Linked DNA regions of Homo sapiens: region 1 is linked to region 2. The links are contacts of gene promoters, found by promoter capture Hi-C in blood cells and fetal thymus (Javierre and others, 2016). All regions are on one chromosome and are shown on one strand. The core of a region is centred on a gene start or on the middle of the fragment in contact, and the rest is flanking DNA. Distances in the headings are between cores, read along the strand shown. Region 1 overlaps LOC105371775 (a long non-coding RNA gene). Region 2 holds the start of KRT9 (keratin 9).

Region 1 (5,356 bases), core at 1,082-3,581, 880 kb after region 2:
ATCTGGTGACTCAAGATCTGGAAGCTGTTCTGGTCAAGGACGAGGTAGACTTTTTTTAATATTGATAATAGTTCTGTAATTTAAAAGTGAAGACATACTTTGCTTGTCATACTAAAAGAGTCCGCTATTTTTTACATAATCTTACCCAGACAGAACACGTTGAATGCATGTGATTGAATTTCTCTTGCTCTGTGTTTCTGTGAGAGTTTCCAGACTGACATTGCAATCCCATGATTTTCAGATTCAAGCAAGACTAGAGTGACTAAGACTATCGTAGAGGAGTTGGTGGATGGCAAGGTTGTCTCGTCTCAAGTCAGCAGTATTTCTGAGGTGAAAGTTAAATAAGGAACTTCCAGATCAACAAAAGTGTCTTTCAAAGAAAAAAAAATCAAGAAGGACACAAGCGAAGAAATGGCATCAATCTAGGCATCTTTCTGGATAATTTCAGGAAAAGCTTCAGTCCAGAAATGGATGACTAGCCAACTTTTCTGCATCTTCTTATTTCCTCATTAGAATGCTCTTGAAATAGCTGAATTAACAACTTTGCTTTAATTGTTTCTATGCTTCAATAAATTTACTTTTGCAAGTTAATTATTACTTATTTTTTTAAAAAGTATTTTACCTAGGAAGGAAGCTATCAAGTATGATCTAGCTGCATGACTATATTACTAATGTCAGTTCATTCTTTATATCTTACTGTTGTAACTGAGCGAGTTATAGAGAAATGACACACTCTGAGACTAATTCAGGAGTCCTTTTATTGCCGGCGAACAAGACGGCTAGAGCTCAAAATTCTCTCGGCCCCGAAGAAGGGGCTAGATTTCTTTTTATATCGTGGTCTAAATAGGGGAGAGGGAGTTTAGCTGAAGCAATTTTTACAGAAGCAGAACAGGCAAACCAATTAAGAAAGATTAATTGGTTACAGAAACAGTTACAGAAAAGTAAACAGTTCCAGGTGCAGGGGCTCAAACTATCACAAAGAGATAATGCAGGGGCTTTGGGTGCCATCCCCCAAGCGCGTCCTCAGGAACTGCTGATTTAGCTTGCCTCGATATCTCATCAGTAAGCGCATTCCTGGATGTGCTCGGAGTCAGCTTGCACTACTTATGCCTTTAAGGGAGGGGAGCTGCAAGTGAAGAAACAAAAATGGAGTCTGTCCGGCTCTCTCAGCTAAGAGAGACAATCAGGTTAAAACGAGGTAGGGTATCACATTACCTTCTTTATACAATTCAGATTATAGTCATTTTTTTAATGTGGGCATTTTTAATGGCATCACATAAGAACTCAGTGGCATGATAGCTGAAATTAGACTACCGTGTCAACGGCTTAGCCCACAAAGAAGGATGTGATTATTTTAATAATCAACTTATAATTAATGTCTAGTTTATATATGTCCATCACTGAACTCGATATTTTATAAGATAAAAAAGAAACTCAAAATCTCCCTCCTACTTCAAAAAGCTCACATTTCAGCAGAGAAGAAGAGCTAAAACACAAAGAAGACAGCAAGCAATAAAAAGCTGTTAATAGTAAAGACTTGATTTCACAATCTGCATCAGAAGTGACATAGGAATCAGACATGTGTGTTTACAGGACATTTAGGACAGGGGCCAAAAAAGAGTCTTGGGAAATAAGATTGGCTATGTGATATGGCAATCTGATTTCCTGAAACCTTGAAAGCCCCAAAGAGAAGAGATCCTCAGGCACTTGTTCCCCTGCCAAATCTAGCCACATCTTTAGCCAAAACCTGCCACTTCGCCAAGCTGGTGTTTCTTTTCCCCAGTCTCCACTGCTAAGATCTTTCATCCCGTTGGTGGTCATAGCCCTATTCTTTCATTTCTACAGTATCCCTGAGGCCACATGGCTTTGTCTTGTCTTGTTTGGGATGATGAAACCTGTTAAGATTGGGTAGGAGGTGGTACGGGCCCCAGGAAGAACCAGGCATAGCACCAACCCAGGCTGGCTAAGGGCTTTCTCAATCAAGGAATTTAATATGCCCATATCACAAATTAGAGAATCAACTCTACAAGCCAGTCCTCAAGGAAAGAACACGGGACGTGGCATAAAAAGCCAAATGTAAAGTTATAAAAGGACAAATCTGAACATGTATCTTCCAATATAAAACCAATTAAGAATTGTGTGAGCATATCAAACCTATCATCAAAACATGTAGTTTTTCATCTTCTGGGCACATTGAATAAAACTTAAAATGAACCTCTGGGTACATTATGACTTCTGCTTAAATAGCTAACCACAGAATAAGGTTAATAGCTAACCACAGAATAAACATTAAACCACTACTCAAAGAAAAAGAGCAATGTTAAGTTGCTTAAGTCAAAGCTGTTTTCCACCATCAAATCATTACAATAAATAAAACCCTGAATGCTTCTTCTCTGCTGAAATACTAAAAGTCTGAACCAGCTCATCCAACTGGATTCATAGCTCAAGAGCAGAAATGGAAATCTGCCGTAAGCAGCCTGCAGAACCTAAGCCATCCCGGCCACATCAGCGAAGCCTCTCTCTGTGGGTCTTCTCAAGTCTAACCTTCTAGCTGTGGATTTTGGCCACCTGAGACCTATGTTCATGGCTAGTACTATTTTCATGTCAAGGCAAAAGTATAAGGCTACTCTGAAAGTCATCTCGAGGTGAAAACCCTCATCTGTTCTTCCTTGTCATGCGTTAAGATGCTGCGTTTGTACTGAATGATTGTTTACAAATATAGAAAAGGCCCAATCATAGACACCAGAACACTGAGACACAATAGAATGTGTTGTTAAGGGCATGTTCAATTTTGAAAACTGAAACTATTCAACCATTTTGGATCATAAAACGTATTTACAGTGCTGAATAAAAAGTTAAGGACATGGTGTTCATACATTATTACTTGCCTTAAAATTATTTTAAAACTCTACAATAGGAATATGTTTATTGTGAGACCCTAAAGTTCAGCTCTCCAGGCAATTTTTTTGCTTTGTTTTGTTACAGGGTCTCGCTCTGTTGCCCAGGCTGGAGTGTAGTGGTGCCATCTCGATTCACCTGCAGCCTCAACTTCCTGGGCTCAAGCAATCCTCCCACCTCAGCCTCCTGAGTAGCTGCAGGCAACCATGCCCAGCTAATTTTGTTTATTTTTTGTAGAGATGGAGTTTCACTATGTTGCCCAGGCTGGTCTCAAACTCCTGGGCTCAAGCAATCCTCCCACCTCGGCCTTCCAAAGGGCTGGGGTTATAGGCATGAACGACTGCATTCAGCCTCAACTTTTGAATGAGAGGAACACATTTCTTTTTTCTAAGAGTGGATTTACTGTAAGAAGGGAGAGCTCATGCCCACATGCACATGGGCTTTCTTTTTTGTTTGTTTGTTTTTTTTGAGACAGAGTCTCTCGCTTGTCGCCCAGGCTGGAGTGCAGCGGCGCGATCTCGCCTCCACCTCCCAGGTTCAAGCGATTCTCCTGCCTCAGCCTCCTGAGTAGCTGGGATTACAGGCACGCGCCACCAAGCCCAGCTAATTTTTGTATTTTTAGTAGAGACGGGGTTTCACCATGTTGGCCAGGCTGGTCTCGAACTCCTGACCTTGGGATCCGCCCACCTCGGCCTCCCAAAGTGCTGGGATTACAGGCGTGAGCCACCGCACCCAGCCTCGCACATGGGTTTTCACCCGTTGACTTTTAATCCAGAGATTCACAGGGTTGTTTTTTCTTTCTCACCTCAGGGAAGTATACACAAGAATGATGAGAATGGTCGACGTGGCATCCATCCTCACAGAGATGACAAACAAGAAACAAGGTTCACAGCAGGCAGCTCAGAGTAAACGGCTAAAGTATTTGAAGCTCTAAGGAAAGTGGCCTAAACTGGCTTGACGACTTCGTGGAATTAGACAGTGTTCACCCAGGAGGAGACAAACTGGTGAATATAAATCACCCAAAATGAAGCTCAAGTAATATTATCCACACAACCTCCTCAAGGAACAAAATACTACAAGTAATAAACCACTTTAAAAACTTTTCAGTGGCTGAGATATGACACTTGGGTAACAGAAAATATTGATCAAGCCCTTCTGAAAACAAAGTACTCATTTGTAATATCAATGTCAATATGAAATGATAATGCAGGAAAGAAGCAAATGTTAATAGTTCAACCACTTTTTTAAAAGTTAGCACTTAAATAGCAGGTAAGGGACAAGCCCAGAGGTATCCTGTGTACAAAGCTTGGACTTCCAGAGAGGGGGCATGATGAAGTTATTTTGCTGACAGAACCACAAGGAACATGAAGCTTATAACATGTGCTTTGTTATAAGCACATGCGAGCTTATAACAAAATTGCGATAGGATGTGCATTGCATGCCTCAGTCACCCAGGCTGGAGTGCAGTGGTGCAATCACAGCTCACTGCTGCCTAGACCTCCTGAGCTCAAGCGATCCTCCCACCTCAGCCCCCTGAGTAGCTGGGACTACAGGTGTGCTCCACCATGCCCAGCTAATTTTTGTATTTTTTGTAGAGATGGGGTTTTGCTGGGATTACGGGAGTGGCTCACACCTGTAATCTCAGCACTTTGGGAGGCTGAGGCGGGAGGATCACTTGAGCCCAGGAGTTTGAGACCAGCCTGAGCAACATAGTAGGATCCTATCTCTACAAAAAAATACAAAAATTAGCTGGTACTGGTGGCATGTGCCTGTAGTCCCAGCTACTCAGGAGGCTAAGGCAGGAGAATCGCTTGAGCCCAGGAGGTTGAGGCTGCTATGAGCTGTGATGGCACCACTGCACTCCAGCCTGGGTGACAGAGTGAGACCTGGTCTCAAAAAGAAAAAAAAAAATTAGAGAAAGTGTAGCTCTATGTGGTTCCACCTGTGATGTAAAAGCATTACAATAAATTAATGTCTATAATTAACCTATGTAGATGTTTCTATAATAAGTGATGTCGAGCAGAATAACTTTTTGAGCAATCCAAAGGAGAAAAAACAGGAGGGCAAAAGGAATTTATATTTCATAAGCACGTGTTATGTATATAAACACTTTGTATCTATGTTTACATTTTATTTCACTTAATCCACAAACTCTCTGATGTAGGTATTACTGTTCCCATTTTATAGATGAAGAAAATAAAGCTGGGAGAGGTCATTTATTTAAAGGCCTCTCCCTTTAAATAAAGTGGAAAAATTACAAGTTAAAGCTCCATCTCCTAATTCCATGAGCTAGAATTCTACTCTACCAAAATAAGTGAAGTTCTGTAGTTTCATATCCTAGACTCACCAAGTGGCCTATTTCTGTGAGAGGTACCCCCCAAAAGTACTTTTTTTTTTTCATTTTTCCAAAACTGCTTCTCCCTCGCCTAAACAGGGAGGCTTCAAAATTTCCAGAACA
Region 2 (5,250 bases), core at 2,113-4,612:
CCCCCAAACAGATACATTTGCAGATGACAGAGCAGGGTTCTGAAAGTGCCACTCTGCTGGCTCTCTCCAGGGTGGCCCATCCACAGCACCACTGACTTCCCTACCCAGCTCAGGGACCCAGGACCTGGGGCTTACATCCCAACCAGAGTGGCGGCATCAGCATGGGCATGGGGAAGAGGGTAACTTTCCAGGCCTTGGAACACATTGCGGCAGATTCTGGGCTTCCCAGCAGAGCTTGGCAAAAACCTTGAATGGTTTAAAACCATTTGAGAAAGTAGAAAGGGAATCAATTATACCCACTAGCCTTGATCTAAGAGTCTTCCATGTATTAACTATCATAAAATGCCTTCAGTATTCTCTGAATATTGAATAAAAGAGAATTATATTCTCTTTTAATTTTCAAAACTTAAACTACCTGTTTAATTTTTAATGTAACATATTCTGTAACACCCATTTAAATATTTATTTAACACATTTTGGTAAATTAACTCACCTTTCATTTCAATAAATATATTTATAAAGGAAATCTTACATTACTACAAAAAAGGAAAATCATAATCACTTGCCAGAAGCAGAAGGAAATGACATACAGAAATACTTAACTTCTAACTAGATGCTGTTACTTTCTAAAGGTTCTGAGCCCAAAGTTGGCTCTCTTTTTTTGAACAGGGTGATTGACAAGTGTGTGGGTCGTTAGAGAAGCCATAGTGTCCAAATGAGATTTCATCCTTGACTAATCAGAAGATTGAAAAATAGAAAAAGAGGCCAGGTGCAGTGGCTCATGCCTGTAATCCCAGCACTTTGGAGGCTGAGATAGGAGGATCATTTGAGCCCAGGAGTTCAAGATCAGCCTGGGCAACATAGCGAAATCTCATGTTTATGAAAAAAAAAATTAGCTGAGCATGGTGGTGTGTGCCTGTAGTCCCACCTACTTGGGAGGCTGAGGCTGGAGGATGGCTTGAGCCCAGGAGGTCAAGGCTGCAGTGAGCTGTGATCATGCCACTGCATTCCAGCTTGGATGACAGAGTGAGACTCTGTCTCAAAACAAACAAACAAACAAACATGGAAAAAGGAAATCTTCCTCCAAGTGCTTCAGTATTATTATGTTTAGGATGATTATTATTATTTGAGACGGAGTCTTGCTCTGTCGCCCAGGCTGGAGCACAGTGGCGCAGATCTCACCTCACTGCAACTTGTGCCTCCTGGGCTCAAGTTGTTCTCATGCCTCAACCTCCTGAGTAGCTGGGATTACAGGTGTGTGCCACCACGCCTGGCTAATTTTTTGTATTTTTAGTAGAGACGGGGCTTTGCCATGTTGCCCAGCCTGATCTCAAACTCCTGAGCTCAGGCAATCTGCCCACCTCGGCTTCCCAAAGTGCTGGGATTACGGGCATGGGTCACCGTGTCCGGCCACTTCAGTATTATTTAACAGTCGTTGAGCATCACTTAAAAGCCCCTCAAGAAATACCAGTCATCTATGCCGCCTACACATGCAGGCATTGCCTCTTTCAGGCCCTTGCTGACCATCCTGGCAAAGAGATTTCCTTACCTTTAGCTCCTTTTCAGCAATGAGCATCTTTCTGGAATGACTGGTATCTTTCCTCCATCTCATATGTGTTGGGATCCTACTTGGATCAGACGTGGCGCTGGGCACTGGGGCAAGTACGAGATGAGCAGGGGCAGGCTTAGAGGAGCTCTGGCTGCCCGCAGAGAGAGGTTTCTTCTATTTTTTCAGTACATGAACTTTTATTCTTCATCAAGTGCTTCATAGAGCCATGGAGATAAGTGTGAGACACTATAACAGAGCACAGTACAAACCCAGGGGGCGAGAGTACAGGAAGACAGAGGAGGAGGCAGTCAGAGGGATCACTGAAGATGGGTAGTTTTCTGTGTAGAAAAGATGGAGTGGGACATTTCAATCAGAGGTCACTGCAAGTGCCGAGTATTCTTAGAGGGAAGAAGGGCATTTGGGAAGCATTGTATGATTTTCTAGGGGGCCTGGGGGATGGTGGGAGATGGGGCAGGAATGGAAAGATGGGGATGGGCCTAAGTGCCAGGAATGTGGACCTTATCTTGAGGGTGGAGGGAAACTGGTGAAGTGATGTTGTCAGACATGGATTAGAAAGGTCATTCTGGCTGCTGTGCAGGAAGAGTCAGAGGGAATGGGAGAGGCAGGGAGGGCAGTTAGAAGCTCATGGCTAAGGTCTGGGTGAGGGCAGAGTTGACGGGGAGTTAGGGGGCTGAATGATCAGAGGCAGCCGAACATTTTTTGAGCACTTCTCACAAGTCTCTTACTAGGAGATGGACAAACTACTCATATCAACCTTTTTCAAAGGAGGAAACTGAGGCACAGAGTATTTAAGTAACTTATCAAAGTCACACAGCTCATGAGCATGGAGCTGGATGGAGCTCAGGTAGGCACACCGGAGACCAGCGTGTTCTTTACCATTCTCTTCTGGCCTTGGTGACCAGAATATACATCCAAGTTTCTGCCAGGAGCAGGGATAAGTCACACATCTCTGTATCCCCTCCAGAGTTCTGTATGGGGTAGGCACTCAACCAAGGTCAATTCCACACTCCCTGCTGGGCCCTGCAAAAGGACCAGGACAGTCGAGCCACTTGCATTCCTGCTCAGAGGTCAGCTAGTGTCAGCACCACCTTGTTTATTTGGTCCACTTTCTTCTTCCAGCCCTTTGTGTGAACTCTGCACGCTGTCCTTTAGTGCTGGCGGGCATGGTCTCGGTGCCCGTCTCCATCTTTTGGCCATGCCAGTTGCCTCCTCATCAAACTGGAGTCTCCCAAGGGCAGAGCCTCAGACTCTGCAGAAAGCCTCGAGGATCCTGAGAGCAAGGATTGGTTTTCATCCATTTGGGGCTCCACAAGGGCAGGGGCTGTGCCTCCCCCTCCTCTATGATAACTCCTTAGTACCCTAGTTCCAGCTCAGCTCACAGTGGGCACAAGGTGGGAGCAAGGAGGCATGAGGGATGCAGACAGTAATGACCATCAATAGAGGAGGTGACTCTGCTCTTGGGAGTTTCTATCCCGAAGGGGCTAAGTCTCAGACCTGCTGTTGGGGCCAGCCAGAGACCAGACTCCAGGATCTAGGTCACCCCTGTGGCAGTACAGCTGATTTATGGTGGCCCTGACAGCCTAATGTCATCAAATTATCCCACACAATGGAGAGAGGCTGGGCCGCCCCCAGGCAGTCACCAAAGGACGCTGAGCCTGGGGCAGCCCGGCTGCCTCCGTATCCCAGACCTCCCTCGGGTCTGTGGGGGGAGGCTGGCACAGAACAAGGGCACACCCAGGCGTGCCACCTTCAGCTGGGGGTATAAGTAGGCAGCCCCAGGGACAGCTCTGTACCCTGCACTTGGGAGCCGGTAGCACTCCTATCACTGCTTCTCAACCCGTGAGCTACCAGCTGTGTCATGAGCTGCAGACAGTTCTCCTCGTCCTACTTGAGCCGCAGCGGCGGGGGTGGCGGGGGCGGCCTGGGCAGCGGGGGCAGCATAAGGTCTTCCTACAGCCGCTTCAGCTCCTCAGGGGGCGGTGGAGGAGGGGGCCGATTCAGCTCTTCTAGTGGCTATGGTGGGGGAAGCTCTCGTGTCTGTGGGAGGGGAGGCGGTGGCAGTTTTGGCTACAGCTACGGCGGAGGATCTGGGGGTGGTTTTAGTGCCAGTAGTTTAGGCGGTGGCTTTGGGGGTGGTTCCAGAGGTTTTGGTGGTGCTTCTGGAGGAGGCTATAGTAGTTCTGGGGGTTTTGGAGGTGGCTTTGGTGGTGGTTCTGGAGGTGGCTTTGGTGGTGGCTATGGGAGTGGGTTTGGGGGGTTTGGGGGCTTTGGAGGTGGTGCTGGAGGAGGTGATGGTGGTATTCTGACTGCTAATGAGAAGAGCACCATGCAGGAACTCAATTCTCGGCTGGCCTCTTACTTGGATAAGGTGCAGGCTCTAGAGGAGGCCAACAACGACCTGGAGAATAAGATCCAGGATTGGTACGACAAGAAGGGACCTGCTGCTATCCAGAAGAACTACTCCCCTTATTATAACACTATTGATGATCTCAAGGACCAGGTAGGTGCAGGAAACTGTCTCTGTCTTGGTCTCTTTCTCTTTCATTCTTTATCTTCCAAAAAAGTTAAAATGCTAAACTCTAAGCTCAGATAATAGCCAGGGAATCCACCTTTTGGAAATGTACGCTTTCATCAGAAACAAACTTGTGTTTGGTTTCTGGGGATCCCAGGATAGGACTTTGGCCTGTGCTCTGAGTGTTCACTTCCATTTCCTCAACTTTCAGAGTTTGGGCAGAGCAGAGAGGAGACCTGGGTTAACGTGAGCTGAGCTGGGACTGGATGTGGAACCTCCTTTAGGTTTGGTCTAAGTCAATACTTTCTCTTCCTTTGTACTTCTCCTGGGCTTCTTTAGGAGTGTATCTTGATCTTTTAAGGTATTTTGGACCTGACTGTACATGTTGGTTATTCAAGTGTTGGAGAGGATCCAGAAATCTGGGAATGGAAGCTATCTATCCATCCATCCTTCCATCTATCCCTTCCTCCCTCCACCCACATGTCTATCTATCTATCCATTTATTCAGCCACTCAGTTCAGTGAGTGCCTACCCTCAGGGTTGCTCTGGGTAGACATAGTGATGTGCTAGACCTAGTTCTGGTGGAGCTCACGGTCTGGCTCTTCAGTATTCTCAGTGATTCCTCTTGTTTTAACTCCTGCATGTCTCTGAATGTGCTGTTTCTTCTACTCTAAACCTCTTCCATTTATTTATTAATGTTACATCTTAGCCATCCTTCAGGGCCCAATTCAATTGCCAGCCACCTCCTTCCTGAAGTCTTTCTTGATCTCCCATTGCCATAAGCCACCTCTCCTTTCCTTGAACTCTTTTAGGACACTTTTGACTTTGTAGTCAATGGTGGGCTCCCTGAGGAACAGGATGTCAGTAATCTCTAAATCCTACAATGCCCTTTGCAGTAGATCTTCAAATATTTGTTGAATGAATGAATGAAGGCCACACCAAACATCTTCGCTGAAGGCTGGAAGGGGTCTGTGCCATGTCCCAGCTGTTGGAAGTTCCTCATTCCTCTTGAGAATCTTCCTGGATGGAATCCTCACCTCCTGTGGCTTTGCCTGGCCTCTTGCCCTCTCAGCAGTGGTCCACAGCATGATATCATGGCTGTGTCCTTTTTTTTTCAGATTGTGGACCTGACAGTGGGCAACAACAAAACTCTCCTGGACATTGACAA

Evidence for each region. Contacts are between HindIII fragments. The CHiCAGO score rates a contact against its expected background, and 5 or more counts as called.
Region 1: a fragment that was not itself captured here is called in contact with the fragment with the promoter of KRT9 in region 2 in 2 of 17 cell types (erythroblasts and M1 macrophages); the score reaches 6.7 in erythroblasts.

Annotation. Positions count from the first base shown.
Region 1 is chr17:40,693,226-40,698,581 of GRCh38, reverse strand. It overlaps LOC105371775 (a long non-coding RNA gene), which reads right to left. Exons shown (of 4, transcript XR_934751.2): 4 at 742-1,126. It overlaps KRT24 (keratin 24), which reads left to right. Exons shown (of 8, transcript NM_019016.3): 7 at 1-44; 8 at 242-591. The coding sequence ends at 345. Among named protein-coding and RNA genes, the nearest start is that of KRT24, 7.8 kb to the left of the region's middle. The HindIII fragment of the contact is 3,749 bases long and covers 457-4,205 here.
Region 2 is chr17:41,570,171-41,575,420 of GRCh38, reverse strand. It overlaps KRT9 (keratin 9), which reads left to right and starts at 3,362. Exons shown (of 8, transcript NM_000226.4): 1 at 3,362-4,070; 2 at 5,201-5,250. The coding sequence starts at 3,429. The HindIII fragment of the contact is 20,188 bases long and covers 1-5,250 here.